Regions from separate parts of the Homo sapiens genome. Here all the other regions are linked to region 1. Evidence: promoter capture Hi-C in 16 types of primary human blood cells and fetal thymus (Javierre and others, 2016). All regions are on one chromosome and are shown on one strand. Each heading gives the region's core, a stretch centred on a gene start or on the middle of the fragment in contact. The rest is flanking DNA. Distances are from core to core; before and after follow the strand shown.

Region 1 (2,893 bases), core at 1-2,500:
TTTCTCCCAAGCCAGCTTGCTGCTTCTTCCCTCTACGTCTGCCCTGAAATAGAAATGTCAGACATTTAAGTGCAAGTGAGTCCTTTATAAAGTCTGAGGGTGGCTTTTTCTTTAAAGATGTGTAGGAGATAATCAGCAAGATTGAGAATATCACCACCCATCCTGCATAAGCGAGAGAAGCATTTCTTAAAGGGTGAACTAGAAGGAAAGGTGGTTTCTAGGAAAGCAGGTGTACATGCAGTCTCAACACAGGATACTTTGTTAAGTATCAGGTATTGAAAAGGCCTTCTGATACATTGAAACCTCAGGCTAGGAAGCGAAGACAGAGAAAGTGACCACGCCTGGCCACTGCTGGAAGAAAATGCCAGAAGGCCATCTTCCCACAGTCATGGCAGCCTTTACCCCACAATGGGAGATGCGCCACCAGGAGACACCCCCCCTTTTGATCCCAAGCTCAGCTTTACTGTACAGTGTGGCAGGCATTAGGCAGAGAAAGCAGCAAAGTGCGTCGCCACTTGGTTGCCCTTTTTACACTAGCCCGGGTCCACACCCTGCCGCCCCAGCCAGCTCCAGGGTAGGGTTACACCACTTTCCTTTTTCTTCTTATTTTTAAAAGACGAGGGCGCTACAAATATCTTTCCAGCAAGAGCCCGATCCTGGCACGCGGGCGGGGGCAGGGGGGTGGGGGAACTCTCATTTTTCTTCCCTGCGGCTGGCAAATTTTCCCCGTCCTCTTTCCCCTAGGGCCCCCCTCAAGTCTCAGCCCTTGGTGCAGAAAATGGGGCCCCAGGTTACTGCGGCCTCGCCCTGCAAACAAGTTTCCACTGGCTTGGCCGCTTGCAGAATTGCCAGGGCAGGCGCTGAGCGTGGTCAGAGAGCGTCTCTACATCCCGGGATCTTGCACCCCGAGGCCCCTCCGTGCTCGCCCCGGATCGGTGTCCCGGGTAGGGGGACCCCACTTACCCCACAATGGAAATCATCATGGCAGCCACCACCAGGTAGTTGGTCTGGTAATAGAGCAGGTTGCTCACTACGCGGTTGTTCCATTTGGAAATGTCCCTGAAGTCCGGCCGGGCAAAGCGATCGGAACCCGGGAAGAAATCGTCCCAGGCGCGGAGTGGGGCGATATTAACGTCCATGTTCTCAGCTTTGCGTTCTTCGCCTCCAGAATCTGGCGGCGGCGGCGGCGGCAACCGATCAGCTGAGCTGAGTTGGAGAGTTGACAGCGGCTCCGTCTCGGTCGGCTTTGCGGTTGGCAGACAGCAGAGCAAAGGAAATTGGGAGTGGGCGGGCGTGTTTGCTCCTCTTTACTTCTTCATTGGCTCTTGGTTGGGTACAGGAAAACAGGAACCTCCAGACAGAACAAGGGACTGAGTGCAGAATAGAGACGAAATGACAGAAAGCAACTAGCGGAAATCCCCTGTCTGAAGGGAGGTGGCAATGCCTTCTCTAGCAGCAGAGAAGCTGCCTCCTTCGAAATACCTTTTTTGAAGGTTTACCTAGGAGTGTGTTCTCTGACTTAGAGAAAAATTTTGGCAGCTGTGCAGATGCCAATCTAAGTGAAATGAAATGGAAGGCGACTACAGTGTTAATGGAGAATGAGCTGCTTTTGAAAACTAAGTCTTACTAACCTCTACACATCTGAATGCAATTCCCATGTTTTCTCTGTTTCACCATGAGTCACTATGTGTGAAATCAGATTGGCAAAACGGGAAAGAAGGTCATGTAGAACAGAAGGGCTGGTCTGTTTTTTTCACTTCTCTTCTTTGTTCTCCACCTCTGTTCTCTCTAGGCTAAATTGTTGGACTGCTATGCCATTCTGATAAAGTAGGCACTCTGGCCACTTCAGTCCTGAGCTGGGCATGTTGCTTACATTTTAAAGCAAACAGTTGTCTGCAGTGAACTAGTTGTTCTGCATCCAGCATTTTCTGGGCAGAAATATGCATTCCACTTCAAAAGTTTTCTTAGTTTTATTGCAATATTTGGTGACAGCTTTCACTGAGGGACCACAATATATTCATAGATAACGTGATGTTTTGTATCCCAGCCCAAAGACCTGGCAAAAGAAGTATTCGTTGTCAATTCTCTTCTAAGCTTCCAAGGGTCATCTTTTTTCAGTTAAGGGGCTGATTGGTACAATGCATGAGAAAAAAAGTAGTTTGTTTAATTGTATAATGTAATAGGTAGAATTCTAAGGTGAAGATTTCTAAGATAACAGAGTCTCTAAGCCCCTAAGTGGCTTAGACAAGGTGAATTCACTCTACTCAGATCACCAATTTTTGAAAACTTGGAAAGTAATGAAATATACTAATGCAAAGTCTAGAAAACATAATTTAATTTTCCTTATTAATTCAGAAGACAGTTAAGGAGCTTACAGCGACTCTAAGAAATTACTACTACTACTGTTGTTTAGGAAAATTTGGTGATTGCATGGAATTAGTGCTAAGATATATCTTATGTGCTGCTTTTTGAATAAAGTTTAAAATGTGAAAATATTCCTGAGTGCTCATGTTTTCTTGATTCTGGAAAAATGGGATGGTGTGAAGTCAGAGAAAGCAAAATTAGAGTCGCAGCTCCTTCCTCTCTGGCAGGTGACTTTGGAGAAACTACTTAATCTCTCCCAGCCTCGGTGTCTTCATGTGTAAAGTGGGGATAATGGAACATCTGCCATATAGACGAGGCTAAGTGAAGGAATGTATAGGAAATGCTTAGTGTATAATAAAGGTTCACAGTTATATGTTACTATTATTGTTATTAGCAATAGGATAGCCCACGATTCTTGTTTGCTATTAATAGTGCTTTAATCTGATTTGTTTTCTATGCTTTCATTATAAACATCTACTAACTTTTCTCTACCTTGCTCCAACTTTATTGTTGTGGATGTATCTGGGTA
Region 2 (2,893 bases), core at 229-2,728, 4.0 Mb before region 1:
AGATTCAAAGACTCTATGGCACTAACTCATGAGACAGAAATTAAGCCCCATAAATTGACATGAATTATGAACACACTGTAGTCTTAACTTTCAAATAAATCAAGCAGTTACTCTAAATTAGATCAATACGATGCAATTCAAGTGATACTATTCCACATATATATATGGGGAGGGCATTCATAAAATGTGAAAGATACAGCTTTTTGATGGAGGACAACTATTTGATAAAAACAAAAACAGAAAATGCTTCCCTAAAAGTTATATAATTCAGGGGCCAGGCGCGGTGGCTCACGGATGTAATCCCAGCACTTTGGGAGGCCGAGGCGGGCTTATCACAAGGTCAAGAGACCAAGACCATCCTGGCCAACATGGTGAAATCCTGTCTCTACTAAAAATACAAAAATTAGCTGGGTGTGGTGGCACAAACCTGTATTCCCAGCTACTCGGGAGGCTGAGACAGGAGAATTGTTTGAACCCAGGAGGCGGAGGTTGCAGTGAGCCAAGATTGCAGCACCGCACTCCAGCCTGGGTGACACAGCGAGACTCCATCTCAAAAAAAAAAAAAAAAAAAAAGAAATTATATTCAGGCACAAAAAACAGGCCATGCGCAAATCAACTAAAAACTTGGCAACAAAAACAATTTCTTAGGAATGTACACTCACTGGATGAGTAGAAATGAGAACAAAAAAACCCTTGGCTTTCAATATGAAAATCAAATTATTCTAAAAAGATGCTCATAAGACATAAACACATTTTCAACTTCAGAACAAATTTCTCCACATAAAATCCCCTCCAATAAAATACATACTCAAAATTTAAATCTACTTTACTGAAATTAACTCAATAATGTACTGAAATTAATCACCATTAACTAAGTAGCTTCACCTCCCTTCACTTCCTTTTTCTTCTCCCCTTCCATTTTCCCATTTTTGCAGTTTCTCCTGTAGGAAAGTACAATTCATATCTCTAATAAATATATCCTGGTGCTAGATTTTACATTGACCTTTTTTCTCCATAGGAACTCACAAGTTCATATTCAAACATGTTTCTCTCACAATTCTCTAAAGGCTAAAGGTATTTTCCAGAGGCTTAAGGACAGAAAATCCATCTTTTCTTTTCCCAAGTGGTGCTACAACAATTTAGTGGCCAGCGGCCAACCACCTTAACGTACTGGTTCCTAACATTTCCAGTTCTACTAAGATTACTCTCTACTCAGCCTATCTGCATTGCACACAAAGTGTGAGGAACACTAAGAGCACAACAAAGCTCAGGAGAGTCCTACTACTATTAGCTACTCCAAAGGATAGCAAATACTGCACCATTTATAAACATCAAACGGGAATCTGAGAAGAATGAATAAATAAAATCTAATGGAGATGATCATTCATTAAAGGTGACAGGCTTAAAATACACTTAATGTTTAAAAGGCAGATATTTCAATCAGATGACTTAAAATGTCAAATAATTCAGTCTTAATTATATGACTGAGGCAAACAAAACAAGTATATTTAATCTGAATACTGAATTAAATAAGTGAAAGATCTGCAAAAGTAAGAAAACACTGAGTTGCTTACATAAAATTATGACATTTTTAAAAGGACTAATTTTAAAACACAAATTACTCTCTCTATAAATGGGGCACGAAACAAGAGATTCTTTTACATTATCATTCCACATCATATTACATCTTGTCGACTAACTGAACATTAAAATAGATCAGTGGAACAGAAGAGAGCGGAGAAGCACACCCACACATATATGAAAATCTGATATATGGTAAAGGACAGATTAGTCAGTAAACTGAAAAATATTGAGACTACTCCAAAATGTTAATAGGATTTAAAAACTAAATAATGTGTTTTTTCTGATTACATTAATAGTACAGCCATTATAAGAAATAATAAAGACATAGAAGTATGTATCCATAATCTGCAGTCAACCATCATCACTAAAGTAACATTTTAATATATTTTTCAAATTTGACATCCTAATATTCCTTTTTCCCTCCTCCTTACTCACTACGGGTATTTGCATGGGACAAACAGTCTTTGAGGGCAAGATTTTTAACTGCACCACGTATTTGTGCCATAATTTATTAATCACAGTTTAAAAAAATATTTAGGGCTGGGTGCGATGGCTCACGCCTGTAATGCAAGCACTTTCGGGGGCTGAGGCAGGCAGATCACCTGAGATCAGCAGTTCAAGACCAGCCCGGCCAACATGGTAAAATCCCACCTCTACTAAAAATACAAAAATTAGCCAGGCATGGTGGTGAGCGCCTATAATTCCAGCTACTGGAATTACAGACAGGCTGAGACAGAAGAATCGCTTGAACCCAGGAGGCAGAGGTTGCAGTGCGCCAAGGTTATGCCACTGCACTGCACTCCAGCCTGAGTGACAGAGCAAGACTGTCTCCAAAAAAAAAAAAAAAAAAATTAGGTCACATCTACTTCATTACAATTAAAAATAATTATGTAGTTATGTGATTAACAGCCTAATAATAAACCCTGTAGGCATCTATTTATCACCTGAGGATAGATTTCTGTAAGTGAAATTATTGAGTCCGAAGTATGAAGTACATACGTCAAGACTTTTGTTTCAACCTTCAGAAACTCCCCAGACACCATGTACCATACTTTGTAGTGTCATCAGTAATATAAAGCAACATGTTACATTTGAGTATGATAACCTTTCAAAAATTCTGTCAATATGCTAGTAGAGAAACAGTTTAATTTACATTTCCTTCATTGCTAGTGAAATGGAATATTTTTACCTGATTTTGACCACAAGACACTTGTTTTATGTGTTAACAGGTCCTTTGCAATCCCTCATCCCAGGGCTTCTTCAATTTTGGCACTACTGACATTTTCTTTTTTCTTTTGGAGACAGAGTT
Region 3 (2,893 bases), core at 218-2,717, 3.8 Mb before region 1:
TTAGGGTACATGTGCATATTGTGCAGGTTAGTTACATATGTATACATGTGCCATGCTGGTGCGCTGCACCCACTAACTCGTCATCTAGCATTAGGTATTTTTACTCTAGTTTCATGATCCTAGTATTAGTTTTTTTTTTCCTTTCTTAAAATGAATCATCACTGTGTTCAATTCTGTTTTTAAGAGTTCTAACACTAGGCCAGGAGTGGTGGCTCACTCTTATAATTCCAGTGCTTTGGGAGGCTGAAGTGGGAAGAGTGCTTGAGGCCAGGAGTTTGAGACCAGCCTTCACAACATAGCAAGACCCCGTCTCTACTAAAAAAAAAAAAAAAGTTAGCTGCGTGTGGTGAAACATACCTGTAGTCCTAGCTATTTGGGAGGCTGAGGTGGGAGGATTGCTTGAGCCTAGGAGGTTGAGGCTGCAGTGAGCTATGATCCTGCCACTGCACTCCAACCTGGGAAACAGCACAAGACCCTGTCTCTGAAAAAAAAAACAACAAAAAAACAAAGAGTACAATTGTGGATAAACTTATTCTTGACAAAAATGTAGTCAAATGGAAATATTGTAATGCCACATATGTATTTTATATATTATATATATATATATATATATATATATATATATATATATAGAGAGAGAGAGAGAGAGAGAGAGAGAGAGAGAGAGAGAGAGAGAGAGAGATATGGAGTCTTGCTCTGTCACCCAGGCTGGAGTGCAATGGTGCAATCTCAGCTCACTGCAACCTCCACCTCCCAGGTTCAAAGGATTCTTTTGCCTCACAGCCTTCCGAGTAGCTGGGATTACAGGTGGTGCCACCACACCTGGCTAATTTTTTTGTATTTTTAGTAGAAACAAAGTTTTCCCATGTTGGCCACAGCAGTCTCAAATTCTTGACCTCAAGTGATCCACCCGCCTAGGCCTCCCAAAGTGCTGGGATTACAGGCATGGGCGACCGTGCCCAGCCTGTAATCCTATATTAAGTGAAGAAAGCAAATATAGATTATGACATTCTTTTGTTGAAAATACTTCCCATACTTTTATGAATAGGAGTCTGAAAAGATGTATGCCAAAATAATAACAGTGGTTAAGACGTAGTTTGCAAATACTGTGTAAGATTCCACCACCTCCCCAAAATGGCTCAGAGAATGAACTAGCGCTATAAACAACTTATTCAGGAAGCTATTTTTCAACATAGGTTAAAGCTCCATTCTTTGAGATAACATTGTTTTAATCACCTATATGCATGCCACCTTCTGGAAACAAGGAGTATTTCACCATTAAAAGACTTCTAACAATAGAACTTGGTAATAAAGCTGACATTGGAATTGTTTATAAAAACCATTTTTAATTTAACATTTAATTTGGAAGCTTATGGATCACAATCAGGGTTGTTAGACCAGAGGAGGGGCCAATTTAATATAATGAAAGATGATAGGTTACACACTTGTCCTACATAAGTTGGTCATGGAAAAAACTTTATCTTATTATTTTATTTCATGTTCTCTATAGGCCAGAAGGAAAAACTATTTTTAAAACAGTGGAAGGCCATTCAAAAGTAAGCTTTCAGAAAATGAAAAGATAAAAAACACTGCAACATTTGAATGCTCAAAAATGATGAAAAATTGCATTCCTGTTTTCCCCTCTAAACCAGAGCTAATTTAAAACATTAAAATAATGTCTTTATTCTCAAGCAATGTCTGTATTCAGAAATAGAAACTCAATTTGATCTATGAATCAATATAGCTATGTCTCAAAAATGAACCAAAGTAGGAAAAAAAGCATGTTGCAGAATTACTTTCATAGTGTGAGAATGTGCCCATATAAAGTGGGTCTAAACACAAAGCAACAGGGTCCATAGAAATGGATGTAGAAATAGAAAAGGGTCTGAAGTGATAGCTAGGACTGCCTTTGAGGAAGCAGGAGAAAGAACCAAAGTTGCATGGCAGCCAAAAGGAACTTTATGTTCTTAAGTGAGAATGAATCTATAACTTATATTTACCACTAATAGAAATGCAAAAATAAGAGAACTATTGCCTGCAAGAAAACAAAAACCAACAGAAACCCAAAACAACAAAACCTTGTTATATACTTGAAACTATCCGTATTTTGTGATTTAGCAGATGCAGTATATATTTCTTATAATGACGGCAGCACTGAACCATGTTGTCTGTTTTCCTGTGTTGCAGTCCTGTGTGTGTGTGTGTTGCCAGACACATAATAAAGTACCCAGGAAATGCACAGCTCTAGTTTGCAAAGTGCTTTCAATTAGAATTTCCTCATGGATAGCATAGCTTGTTTCAGTTGATTCTCTGGCATTAATAATTTAAAAATATTAATGCTTGTGACCTACAGGAATGAGGTCCCATGGCAGATGTAAAGATTATTTCTTTTTTTTTTTTTTGAGATGGAGTTTCACTCTTGTCACCCAGGCTGGAGTGAAATGGCACAATCTCGGCTTACTGCAACTTCCGCCTCCTGGGTTCAAGGGATTCTCCTGCCTCAGCCTCCTGAGTAGCTGGGATTATAGGCACACACCACCATGCCTGGCTAATTTTTGTATTTTTAGTAGAGACGGAGTTTCACCATCTTGGCCAGGCTAGTCTCGAACTCCTGACCTCAGGTGATCCACCCCCTCGGCCTCCCAAAGTGGTGGGATTACAGGTGTGAGCCACCGCTCCCGGCCAAGATTCTTTGTAAAGAAGCTAATTTGGAATAGTTTAGTCACAGGCCTATCTCAAGGGACCTTTTGAGAGCTTTATTAAATCAAAGTTGGCATCAATTCATTGTCAATATTGAGTGCCTATTACTTGTAAGGCTCAGTATGGTCTAAAGCAGGCAGGCTTGGCTTTAGAATGTGAAACAAAGTAGGTGGTAATAACAGAGGGAGTCAAC
Region 4 (2,893 bases), core at 171-2,670, 3.4 Mb before region 1:
GCACAATTCAGGCCCAGTTATAATAGCTCCTAATACCCAATATCTTGTTTTGGTCCTTCGTGAATACCAGGCATCCATCAGCGAACCTTCCATGCCTGATTTCTCCGAATATTCAAAACAACCCTGGGAGGATGAGCCCCATTTTGGAGATGAAGGAGCTGAGGCACGAGGTTTTAATGCGGGCATGTGGTCGCCAGAATTTGAATAGCAACTTCCCTAAGGAAACGCCCTATTTAGACTCTAGGGGAGAGGAGGATCCCAGGAGGAGTCCGCCAGCAGAAGCTCAGAGTCTGGCCTGGGGGCATTTAGTTATGCCACGCCCTTTCTCTACTGTTCCCTCCCGCGACAGGGGCCTGACAGGGAGTGGGGCTTCGGGCCAGCGTCTCGGCCGGACGCAGGGACTTCAGAAGAGGCAAATACAAAGCTCCGCATGGCAGAGGAACAGAGGGGCGCGGGGGAACGCGGTCCAAAGGTGGACCTTGTCGGCCCCTGGGCACTGCAAGCCTCGAGGCGCTGCGAGCGGTGAGGCTGTTGCAAGCTCCCGCGGCGCGCGCAAACTGCGTGGAACTACTTCCCCGGGGCGGCTTCGGGGCCGGGGTCCCGGCAACAGCCTCACGGGGCGCCGTGCGGGGCCCGAAGCCAGTTGCCAGCTCCCGGGCGCGGCCACGTGCGCCCCGCCGGGCTTGCACGCTCCGCCGCGCCGGGCCGCGGGGCCACCGACAGGCACGCGCGCCCCCAGCGCGCACACACTCCCGGGCACGCACACCGACCGCCCGGCCCACGTCCGCCACGCCCCGCCTTCCCCCGCGCCCCGCCTCCGCCCTCGCGGCGCCGGCCGCCGCCCTCCCATTGGCCGCACGGCGCGTGACGCGCGGCGCCAGGCCCCGCCCCTCGTCAGTCACTCGGCGGAGGCGGCGCTGGCGGGGACTAGTCTCGTCCGGAGACTGTGATGGATTTAACCAGGTGGGGAGGGAGGGAGGGCGCGAGCTTGGGAGTGGAGAGGGAAGGAGCCGGCCCACTCCCCGTCGCCGGCCTCGGGCTGCCCCTGCGCGCCCCCTCCAGATCCGGCCCGCGGCTCCCCTCCCGGCCCCCCCAGCCCCACGCTCAAGTCCACAAGTCCGCCCGCTTCCTGCGCCCGCCGCGGCCCTTCCCGGGGCGCCGCCGCCACCGCCTGGTGTGCGAGGCTATCCGGCCCGGGCCCGGGGCTTGCAGGGTGCCAGTGGGGGCGCCCGGTTCCCTTCCTCGCTCTCTCTTCCAGTCCCCGGAAAGGGTGGGTGGGTGGTCTCCCGAGCGAAGTTTCCAGCACTGGATTCCTGCGAAATTACGACGGCTCACCCGCGTCTGTGTTTTGCTGTCTCTCCCCCGTTTTCCTGCTCCCTGCCTCTTCCCTCCCTTTTCCCCCACTCTCCACTCCTCGGAAGGCCAAAAAGACAAGCGAAACCTGCCGCAGACGAAGGGTTTTGGGATTGTAGCGTCTGCACCTTCAGAAACAGTGCTGAAGCCTTTAAATGCAGCATCTGCGATGTGAGGAAAGGCACCTCCACCAGGTACTTGAAGATCTGTGTTACCTTTTGTTAAAGGACTTTTTTTTTTTTTTTTTAAGTGAGAGGGTAGTGAGCCTTACTTTCTGCCCTTTTTCCAACTTGTTGATTACGGCTTTTTTTGTATTTGCGGGTGGGTTGTGTGTGTTTTTGGGTTGAGTGTATTAAGTGTTGGGTGAAAAGCCTTGTGTTCGCTAAATGATTTATGGGAGGGAATTTTTCCAGGTTTTCATTTTATTTCAAACGGACACTGGATTTATTTGACACTTGTGTCTATTGGCTTATTGGTATTGGCTGGGGAAGAGAGGAAGCAGTACTATCGCTATGGATTGTAGGACATAGATGTTTTATATTTTTGCCATGTGTAGAATGGTTTTAATTTGCCTGTCCCGAGTTACTTTTCTCTTGTCTGAGAAATTTAGTGGGGGTAGTAAGGCTGGCTGTGCTTTTCCTGTCTTGAGCTGCAAATGTCTGTTACTTTCTTGCACTTGAAAATAAATGTCGGTATTTGATAAAGTAAGTGCATTTTGTGGGAGACTGAGCTGTCAGTTTTTTTTTTCTTTGACTAGCTTATGTGGGGTGGTGATGGGGGACGATTTTGTAAAATGGTGAAATGAGCAGTGACTGTGGAAGTTTGTGTTTAAAGCTCTGTGATGATGAAAAGAATGTTGAAAGAATTCCTTTTCATTTTGATGAAGGTCGTAAACTGCATGTGATGTTAAAACGAGTTAACTACTTTAGATTTAACATTCATAAATACTTGGATAAAATGTCAAGACTCATGTAGTCTTTTGGTCATCTTTTAATTTATGTCTGAATTTGTTTCATTGGCGTTAGAGTTTGAAGTTAAACTGTTCTTGGTGTCATTTAATGAACAGGCATTGGGTGTGTGTGTGAGACAAGAATGAGTTTTTGGTGGATCCTTTAGAACATTACAGTTGATTGCCAAAAGTCTCATTTTATCAGGTACTTATTTTTGAATTGGTGACATTTCAGTGTGACTGTGTAGTAGTACTTCACAGTTCCAACTGGATATTGTTCTTTGATTAGATGAATATGTCATGTTAAGGTTTCATTGGTTTATTTATACTTGGGATTAAATAGGATTATTGGGCAACCTAAAATAATCTAACTCTGAGATTAATTGGCCTAATTATTGTTTCTGTGAATTGCACTCTTTAAATGATGATACCTTTGAATAAAAATAATCAAAAACTAAAAATATTACTCCATACGTTGTTTTAAGAAATTTTTGTCGGTGTTTTGTATTATCATGGAATATATCTAAAGTAAAAAACACGCATCAGTAGTTTCATAGATTTTGTTTTGCTGTCTAAAATAGGGAATTCCAT

The links. Contacts are between HindIII fragments. The CHiCAGO score rates a contact against its expected background, and 5 or more counts as called.
Region 2: a fragment that was not itself captured here is called in contact with the fragment with the promoter of ARL6IP5 in region 1 in 1 of 17 cell types (activated CD4 T cells); the score reaches 5.4 in activated CD4 T cells.
Region 3: a contact is called between a fragment that was not itself captured here and the fragment with the promoter of ARL6IP5 in region 1, in 1 of 17 cell types (total CD8 T cells). The highest score is 7.9, in total CD8 T cells.
Region 4: the fragment with the promoter of RYBP here is called in contact with the fragment with the promoter of ARL6IP5 in region 1 in 1 of 17 cell types (neutrophils); the score reaches 5.6 in neutrophils.

What each region holds. Positions count from the first base shown.
Region 1 is chr3:69,083,294-69,086,186 of GRCh38, reverse strand. It overlaps ARL6IP5 (ARF like GTPase 6 interacting protein 5), which reads right to left and starts at 1,250. Exons shown (of 3, transcript NM_006407.4): 1 at 964-1,250. The coding sequence starts at 1,139. RefSeq lists an enhancer at 1,170-1,479. The HindIII fragment of the contact is 15,418 bases long and covers 1-2,096 here.
Region 2 is chr3:73,040,042-73,042,934 of GRCh38, reverse strand. All of the region lies in intron 2 of PPP4R2 (protein phosphatase 4 regulatory subunit 2), which reads right to left. Among named protein-coding and RNA genes, the nearest start is that of EBLN2, 20 kb to the left of the region's middle. The HindIII fragment of the contact is 5,162 bases long and covers 1-2,893 here.
Region 3 is chr3:72,849,846-72,852,738 of GRCh38, reverse strand. No RefSeq gene overlaps it. Among named protein-coding and RNA genes, the nearest start is that of SHQ1, 2.8 kb to the right of the region's middle. The HindIII fragment of the contact is 192 bases long and covers 1,372-1,563 here.
Region 4 is chr3:72,445,150-72,448,042 of GRCh38, reverse strand. RYBP (RING1 and YY1 binding protein) reads left to right here and starts at 1,420. Exons shown (of 4, transcript NM_012234.7): 1 at 1,420-1,547. The coding sequence starts at 1,420. RefSeq lists silencers at 574-983, 1,044-1,103. The HindIII fragment of the contact is 10,688 bases long and covers 1-2,893 here.